Linked DNA regions of Homo sapiens: region 1 is linked to region 2. The links are contacts of gene promoters, found by promoter capture Hi-C in blood cells and fetal thymus (Javierre and others, 2016). All regions are on one chromosome and are shown on one strand. Each heading gives the region's core, a stretch centred on a gene start or on the middle of the fragment in contact. The rest is flanking DNA. Distances are from core to core; before and after follow the strand shown. Region 1 has its middle 23 kb from the start of KIRREL1. Region 2 holds the start of CADM3-AS1 (CADM3 antisense RNA 1).

Region 1 (4,461 bases), core at 1,238-3,737, 1.2 Mb after region 2:
GAAGGCCAGGCTGATGAGGTCTCATGGGGATAAGGAATTTATTGAGAATTAGAACAAAGGTCATCCTTGTTATGCCTTAAAGAACTTGGCTGCATTGTGTCTGGGCCCAGGAGCTAGGGAAGGTTGAACTTAAGACTGATGACCTAGGGTATCTGGCAGAATTTCTAAGCAGCAAAGCATTCAAGATGCACATGGCTGCTTCTAACAGCCTATTATCAGATGTGAGAACAAAATAATGACTTAAAATTAGAAGTTATAATTAAAAGGGAAGCAGAGCATAAAACTTCTGCAAACTTACAACCCTGGATGGTAGAGAAGGAAAGAGCATTTTCAGAAGAGGAACACAAGCTGGCTGTGGAGCAAGCACTTGCTAGAGGGATTAGCATGACTAAAAGGGAATCAAGTGCTAATATCCAAGACAATGGGAAAAAGGTCTCAAAGGCATTTCTGAAATCTTTAAGGCAGGCCCTCCCATCACAGGCCAAGAGGCCTAGGAGGAAAGAATGGTTTTGGACACCAGGTGCAGGGCCCTGCTACTCTGTGTAGCCTGAGGATACAGCTCCCCACATCCTAGTCACTCAAGCTGCAGCCTTGGCTCAAAGGGGCCAAGATGCAGCTCAGGCTGCTGCTTTGGAGGGTGTCACTATAAGACTTGGTAGCTTCCACATGGTGTTAAGCCTGCAGGTGTGCAAAATGCAAGAATGAAGGAGTTTTGCCAGCTCCCGCCTAGATTCCAGAGGATGTATTAGAAAGCCTGTGTGCCCAGGCAGAAGCCTGTCACAGGGACAGAACCCCCACAGAGAGACTTTACTAGGACAGTGCCAAGGGGAAATGTGGGATTGGAGCCCCCACACAGAGTTTGCATTAGGGCACTGGCTAGTGGAGCTGTGGGAAGGAGGCCGCTGTCCTCTAGACCCATGAATGGGAGAGCCACTGGCAGCATGCACCCTGAATCTGAAAAAGCCACAGACACTTAACTCCAACCTGTGAGAGCAGCCACAGGGGCTGCACCCTGTAAAACCACAGGGGTGGAGCTGTCCAAGGCCTTGAGAGCCCACTTCTTGCATCAATGTGCACAGGATGCAGGACATGGAGTCAAAGATTGTTTTGGAGCTTTAAGAGGTAAGGATTGCCCTGCTGGGTTTCAGACTCCATGGTGCCTGTTGTCCCTTTCTTTTGGCTGGTATCTCCCTTTCAGAGTGGAATGTTTACCCAATACTGGTATCACCATTGTATCTTGGAAGTAAATAGGTTGTTTTTGGTTTTACAGACTCATAAATAGAAGGAACCTGCCTTGAGTCTCAGATGAGACTTTGGACTTTTGATTGAGTGGATGCTAGAATGAGCTAAGACTTTTGGGGACTATTGGGAAAAGATGGTTGTATTTTGCAATGTGAGAAAACCATGAAATTTAGGGAGCCAGGGTCTGAAAGATATGATTTGGATGTTCTGTCCCCTCCAAATCTCATGGTGAAATGTGACCTATAATGTTGAAGGTGGGCCTGGTGGGAGGTGTTTCAGTCATGAAGGCAGATCCTTCATCAATGGCATGATACTGTCCTTGTGGCAATGAGTGAGTTCTCACTCTGTGAGTTCACATGAGACCTGGTTGTTTAAAAAAGCCTGGCACTATCTCCCCTCTCTCTCTTGCTCCTTCTCTTGCCATGTGATACACTGACTTCCCCTTTACTTTCCACCATGATTGGAAGGTTCCTGGGGTCTTACCAGGAGCAGATGCCAGTAACATGCTTCTTATACAGCCTGCAGAACCATGAATCAAAATATGCCTCTTTTCTTTATATATTACCCAGCCTCAGGCATTCCTTTACAGCCATGTGAAATGGACTAACAGAAATACTTTGAAAAGATAAGTCCTAAACCAAGTCTTGAAAGATAAGTGATTTTTATCCAGGGGAAGAAAGAAGGGAATGGTATTTCAAGTAGAAGGGAGAATATAAATCAAATCATGGAAGCTTGAAACAGCTTGTTGTGTGTGGAAATCACAAAGAGAGCAGCATTTCTTTTCAAGAGCTGAACTGCCTGGGTGTGACTCCCAGACTCTCTGCAAGATATGTGACCTTGGGCACATTACTAAACCACTAGGTGAATCAGTTTCCCCAGTCATAAAGTGGGGAATATCATAGTGTCTGCCTCATAGGGTTGTCATGAGAAGGAAACAAATCAATTCACGTGAAGTGCTTGGGACAGTGTCTGGCACATCGTAGATGCTCAATAAATGATAGCATTTCTTATCATTGGGTGCAGACAGTGAGGCAGGGATTAGATGGAATATGAGATTGAAAATGTAATTAGCTGGATGTAGAAGGTCTTGTATGCCATACCCAGGGTTTTGACTTTGTCCTGGCAACACCAGGAGCCACTGCAGGATTGTAGGCTAAGGAACAATATGATGGGATTTGGTGTTTCAAGTGGCTCACTATGGCCACCTAGTGGAGGATGGTCAAGGGGAGGAAATTTGGAGGCAGGTTTTAGAAGACCTGGCTGTATATTCTGGCTCAACACTTAACCAGTGTATGAATCATTTCCTTCTTTGAGCCTCAATTTAATAATCTGGGAAGTAGGAATTGTAAAACATATCCAAAGGGCTGCGGTGAGGAGAAAATTAAATAACAGAATGAAAGTCCCTAACCCAGTGCATGACACATATAAATAGGTTTGCAATGAATATTTGTTTTGATTTTAATATCAGAAATCTTACAAGAGAGGAGCAAAAAGCCTCACAGTTTCCCCATCTTTATGCTCTGTCCCACCAGGCCAGCTCTCCTTGCTTCTATAAATGTGCTAGAAACAGTCGAACTGGCTCACAGACCTACACGGTGAGTATCATCCTTACTCTCTCCTACTGCACTCTTCTCACCTCCATAGCTGTCCAGTTCACCCTGATTCAGTGGTCAGAACCCTGACCTCTTTCTAAAGCATCTGCCATATCCAAGGCTAAGACCACATCCACCAGGCTGGAAAGTGGGTAAGGAAAGCTTCTGATGTAACAAGTCTTTTCTTTGTCTGCTGATTGTCATCAGAGAGCTGTTGTTTTTCAATTGACCCTCACCACATTCAATACCTGTTGTTTTACACAATCTTTTTGCAGCACCTCTGTCTTATCTCCCCTAATAGTCTGTACGATTCTAGAAGGCACAGACTGCACAGTAAACATGTCTTAGGACCTGCCTCTTGCTCATGGCAGAGGCTTGCCAGGGAATGAATCGAATGAAGAGTTGACTGATGCTCACACAGTGCTGAAAGCCTGCCAAGCTGTGAATAAGTATGAGTTGGTTTGATTATGAAAGATGGGAAATCATGTCTTCTTTTCTAGAGTGGAACATAAAGCTTCCCAGCCTCCTCAGGCTTGCTCAGGCAGAGCAGGCAGAGCTGTGACCTGTGGGCCCAGAATTGTACCCTTGATAATCTAAATGACAATCAGCTTATTAAGCCTCACAGTCCCCTGTGCAAGCTGATGAAGGAGGGTGGGCGCCTCAGTGGTCAACAACCGTTCAGGGATCTCCTCCCAACAATGGCTCTGTGCCTCTACAAGGCAGTTTGAAACACACACAGAAAACCAGCCGATTTACACACTCTTCTTCCTGCTGTTCCCTTGGCACACATTTTGTGCTGACGTGACAGCCACAGGAACAGATGTCTGTTTGGCCTCTGGGGAGGCAGAGGAAACTCAGGCCACATCTGAAGCTCCTCCCCTTCTTTCCAGGCCACCTGGAACCCAGGCCATGAGTCATGTAGGACCAGTTCAGGGATATGGTCCAGGAAGGCTACAAGGAGTGGGGGTGATGACAGTTGGAGAAAAGAATCAAAGGCGTTGGCACGGAAGGGGAAGTTGAAGGACTCTCTGGCCCAGCTCTCGGGTCATTAAATAGTATTATTGCTCCGGTTTTGTAGTGAAGTAACTGAGGCCTGAGGTGGGTGAGTGACCTGAGCGAGGCAAACGCTCCATGTGTGTAGAGAAGAGAGAAGATGGTGGCAGCTCAGGCCTGCTGCAATGTCCATCACTGCCACCTGCTTCTGACTAAAGATGTCGGTGGTGGTGATGGAGAGGGGATATTGGAGAGGATGTTGTTACCTCAGACCAGGTTAACCAGTAAAGGTGAGTGTGCATACGTGTTTGTGGGTGTGACCTGCTCTTCAATACTCAACTTCAGAGGTCCACTTCTACAGGATACTACTGCTGCTGTCACACCTAATGATAATAATAATGGTAATAACAAAGGCCAACAGAGCGATTGAGCACTTACTATGTGCCAGACATGGTGCTCAGTGCATTACACAGATTACCACATTTAATCCTCTAAGAGGTTGTTCTTATTATTCTTACCCCGTTCCATAGCTGAAGAAAACGAAAGATAAGTTTAGGAACCTGCCCACAGATATACACTAGATTCTTGGTTAGATTGGGTTGCTATGACAAATACCATAGACAGGATGGCTTAA
Region 2 (4,908 bases), core at 154-2,653:
GATCGTCACTGTTTCATCACCCCTCTCTGCTTTTATTTCCTCAGCTAGGGAGACATAGTGGGGACTTTGGGAGCGGTGAGCCATGGCGTGTCCAAGTCAGAACAATGAGATAGAAAGGGCTGGTTAGGGGACGCTGTTTCATTTGTCCAAAACAGCATCGGCTGCTTCATCTCCAGTGTTGTTAAGGACCTTCTGTCCCATTCATGTAGGGCTTCCTAGGGGGCCAAGCACCTCAGACCTAAGGTGCAGAAGGATGGGTACCTCGTAGAGATTTCCCCCTTTTCTCCCAAGACACTAGCTCAAGTTTCAGGTTCAACATGAAGGGGCTGGAAAGTGAATTTGGTCTGGTGGTGTCTGGTGATGCTCTGCAGGGTGGGGTTGATGGCATCTCCATCGCCGTCTTAACATTCTCCAGCAATGCCTGGCAGAGGGTGGGGGGAAGCAGTCAGATGCCCCCCAAGACACTCTCTGGAAAGGAAGGGCTTAGCAAAAGGAAGTGAACACACTTCTCTCCCTTGTAGAGTTATATTGTTGCTGTACATAGATATTCTTGAGAGTGGCCTGGCAAGGGACACACCACCTTTTGAGGCACCAGGCACCAGGTGCAAGGGGTATGGGAAGAAGACCCTCACATACACACATCCCAGCAGCAGCAAGAGGACCAGAAAGGAGGCAGCTGAATGACACGGATAATCCAGATATATTGAGGGTGACCCCTCTGAGATTAGCACAGGAGAGTTAGAAAGATTATAAAGATACACGGTCCCCTCCCTGCTCCCTTCCCCCACCCCCCCACCCCTGGACAGACACACACAGCACAACAGCCCCTCTCCCTCCCACCCCCCCGTACAAATATGGCTTCTGTGTAATATGGACAGAGTGGTTCAGCTTGAAGAGGAAAAGTCATTTTCCCAAAAGCGGGTGCTGGGAGACAAGAAGCTCAACAGGCCTGGGGCCCCAGGGCTCTCTTGCTGTTGTAAGAGGAGTAGGCCCCGGCTTAGGTGAGGGGCTGCCTGTGGTGCCCAAGGCCCTAACCAGCGGCTGGAAGATTCACAACTGTATTACCTGAACTGAAGGGGGTGGGCAGGCCTGCTAGATTGCAGCTGCCCCTTTTTGCATGCCCATTGTCAGACCAGGGAGGAAAAGCTGGGGGAGGGTGGGAGCGATGCCAAGGGCATCCTGGATCTGAGGCGGGGCAGTCCAGCCAGGACAGGGAGGACCAGGAACCTCATCTCCACAGCAACCAGCTGGGGCCACGAGAAGGAAGACAGGAAATCAAAAGGAAGGGTGGGGACCCAGCCTTCAACTCACTGGGTACAGACTATGGGAAAAAATAGGTGGTGGTAGGTCTTTCCAGGGTCAACGCCAAGGAGAGGCCTGAGAGGTGCATAGCAAAGGCTGTGGCACTGACTCCATGGCTCAGAGGAGGGAAATCCAGGGAAGGGCTGAATGCTCTGTGTTTAAGGGAGAGATAGAATGGACAGCTGGGCAAACACACACCCGGGGACTCCTTTCTCCAAGACCGATGGGCATTGGGGGTGGCAGAGGAAATACCAGCATGGAACAACATCCCAGGTGAGGTGTGAACCCTGACTAGGAATACCCCATTCCCAAAGCCTCCCCAACATGTCCCACAGCCCTGTCCACTTGCCCAGGACCCCTGGCTCTTAGCCCTCCTCCTCAGTTCCTCGCTCTGCCTCTCACTCACTCACACACATGCACACACACACACACACATGCACACATGCATACACACCACACACATGCACACAGTTCACATTATTCCCTTAGTTTGGGCAGGAAACAGCTCACTGCAGTGAAGCTCCTTTTAGTAGTTTTGTTGTTATGTCTGCCTGGCTGCTGAGGGAGGAAGGATGAAGGGCTGGCGTTGGGACCAGGAAGGGGGCACAGGGTGGCCGGGAAGGGAGAAGTAGTTGCTGAGCAATGCCATGGGAGGAGTGGTTGCCGTGCAACAATCCAGAGTCTTGGGTAAGAGTGAGGGGCCCCTCAGGGGGGGAAGCAGAGGCAGTTCAGGCCCCAGAGCAGTGCCTCTCCCACTGCTGCTGGAGCAAGGAGGGGCAGCCACACTCTGCTATCTCCAAGGGCAGTTCCTATGGAAAGGGCCCGGCTTTGTTCATTTCCGGGGGGAATGGGGTGAGAGTCCACCTCCATCCTTCCTCTCCAAATCTACTCTTCCTTGCAGGGACCCGCGTCCTCCCCAGGTTACAGTCCTGGGTCCCTGCATGGCTGCATGTTGTCTGCAGGCCACATCTCCTCAGGACTCCCGCACTCATCACTTTCCCATTGCTATGGAAGAGAGGTGTCAAGGTGGCACCTGCCTCCCTGTCCGTAGTGCTCAGGTGTGTGGCTACCAGAGGAAAAGCCACTCCCAACCTTTGCCGACAACCATCCCGTTTCTGGGTTCCTGGAGAAGTCTGGGAAGCTGCTCTGTTGTAGAGGCTGAAAGGAGGGCTGGTGAGAGCCCCCAGCTGAAACCAGCCCTGCCCCTTACCCTTCCTCACCCCTCTACCTTCACTCTCCTCCTAACACTCCAGGGTTTTGTTTTTTGTTTGTTTTTTGCTTTTCTCACCCCAGGGCTCCTGCCTCTCCAGCCTGGAGACAGATTTGATTTGGGATTGTTACAAAAATAATAATAACCCAAATGCAGAGAAGCCACGGAAAGGGCTGAGGGCAACCCTCCCCTCCCCCCGCCCTCCTCCCTCCCCATTCCAAACCGAGTACAAAACCGCACCCAAAGCAGACATTCTGTACAGGGGGGTGGGTGGGCTGGGGAGCAAGCGGGAGGGGCGGCCCTGCGGTTGCTCTGTACAAGTCCGGGTTGGTGACGGCCCCAGCAGTCCCCACAGGGCCCCTGGGGGGCGCAGGAAGTGGGCAGGCGCCTCTAGATGAAATATTCCTTCTTGTCGTCCCCTCCTGACTGCCCGCCTTCTGCATTGATGATGGCCGTGTCCGCGTCTGGAGCATCGTCGGAGCCTTTTGCCTCATGTGTCAGGTAGGTTCCTGTGTAGAGACAGAGGCTTCTCCTCTCAGGAGCAGCTTCCCAACCTCTGAGTCCACCCTGCCCACTTTCTCACCCACCCACTCACACACTGCTCAAGTAATTTTTCTCTTGCCAATAGCTCTCTTCTACTCCACCTTACCTAATTCGCATTTTGCTTCCAACATGCCTCACCTGACCACACCCTTCATGAATAATGAATCCTACCCCTAAGTAGAATCTCATCTATAATACAAAGCAAGAAAGAGAAGTGTGTGTGTGTGTGTGTGTGTGTGTGTGTGTGTGTGCTTGCACGCATGCGTGTGTGTGTGTATGCATGCGTGTGCACGCAACTTGGTGACGGGGGATCTGCTATGTCAGCTTCATGAGCAAAGCAATTGAGATCTGGCTTATGTATGACCAGCCTATGGAGTCAGGCCGCTGGCTAGAATTAATAGCAGAGCAGGAAGTCTGAGAGGAAGGAATGTGAGAAGAGGGTAGAGAGAAGGCATGGATATAAGAGAGAAGGTAGAAAAGGGGGAGAGGAAAGAAAGGCAATGAGATCAAAGGAGAAAGAAAATGAGGTTAAACAGACAGAAAGGAAGAAAGCGCAGGAAGCAATGAGATGGAGATGCAGTTTCAGGAGCTCTCTGTCTTGCAGCAGGAGACCTGGAGGTAGAGCAGCATGGGAGCAACCGCTGACTGAGTGGGAAGGTTTGATTTCACTTGGACGATCCCCAAGTGATCAGGCTTTACTGCGGGGTTGGTGGTGCTCAGTTATCACAGGGTTGGCAATGATAGGGTTGGCTCCATTTTTAATTCCCTAAACACTCCAAAGGGCTGACAAGTCTCTGAAGGCCCTTTCCACTGTCTGCTTCTCCTCGTGCCTGCCTCTGATTGGTCTCCCTGCCCCTCCCAAGTTCTGCTGATGCTCTCTTTGTGCCTCTGACCTTTGTGCCGGATCAAGTAGTGGCCAAGGAAGATGAGCATGATGAGCAGCAGGAAGACAATGAAAGCCACGATCCCACCGATGATGGCGTGGTAGGTGCTGGAGGAGGAGGGCACCGGACTGGGGTCTGGAAGAAAGGGCAACACACACAGTCAGATCTGGGGAGAGCCCTTATCTTATAGCATTCCAACTTGGCCATGAATAGTCTTACACAGCAGGGAACAGGTACTAACATCAGGAAAATGGAGCAGTGTCATTCATCATGCCTTATCTTGTGCTTATACGCCACACCTGTATTATAGTATTTGTTAAAACAAATTGATGGATTAATGAATAAATAAATCTGCCCATACCTAGTCATCTAAGTTGAGTTCTTGGCACTGAAGCTTGGCCTTGGTCAAAGATCATTGCTTTAATGCCTCTCCTTCCTTCCCTCCCTCCCTCCATTTCTTCCTTCCTTCCTTCCTTCCTTCCTCCCTCCCTCCGCCTCTTCTTTTCCTTCCTTCTTCCTGCCTCTCTTCCTTCTTTCCTCTCTCCTCCTGCCCTGTTTCCTTCTTTCTTTTCTCCCTCTTTTTCTTTTTAATTTCTGGGTTATCAGAGTGTTCCTTCTCTGTCCCCATTCCCTCTTACCCTCCTGTCTGCTTGATATTCTGAGCCAGCTCCCCTAGCTCTAAGGGCCTTCTCAGCCTATTCACCCACTGCCCTAAGATCAGATAGGGAAGGAACAGTAAAACCTGATAGAGCCAAGAATTAGGCACTTTGACAGCACCTTACGAAAGATGATAGATGTAAGGGGCCACAATCTATCATCTATGTAAAGAACACTGTTCCTTTGTGGCAGGTGAGTTTAGTGTTCCAGTGAAACCCCAAGCCTCTAGTCTTTCCCAAGGAGGAGGCCTGGGACTCCGTCTTCACTTTGCCACCCTCAAAGTGTTTGTGCAAAGGAAAAGATGCTTTCTCT

The links. The method cuts DNA at HindIII sites, captures the fragments that hold promoters and counts their contacts. A CHiCAGO score of 5 or more calls a contact.
Region 1: a fragment that was not itself captured here is called in contact with the fragment with the promoter of CADM3-AS1 in region 2 in 1 of 17 cell types (total B cells); the score reaches 6.7 in total B cells.

The regions. Positions count from the first base shown.
Region 1 is chr1:157,967,931-157,972,391 of GRCh38, reverse strand. No RefSeq gene overlaps it. Among named protein-coding and RNA genes, the nearest start is that of KIRREL1, 23 kb to the left of the region's middle. The HindIII fragment of the contact is 1,023 bases long and covers 1,976-2,998 here.
Region 2 is chr1:159,198,917-159,203,824 of GRCh38, reverse strand. It overlaps CADM3-AS1 (CADM3 antisense RNA 1), which reads left to right and starts at 1,403. Exons shown (of 4, transcript NR_037870.1): 1 at 1,403-1,575; 2 at 2,204-3,013; 3 at 3,966-4,039. CADM3 (cell adhesion molecule 3) reads right to left here. Exons shown (of 9, transcript NM_001127173.3): 8 at 3,949-4,074; 9 at 512-3,021. The coding sequence ends at 2,903. The HindIII fragment of the contact is 9,224 bases long and covers 1-4,335 here.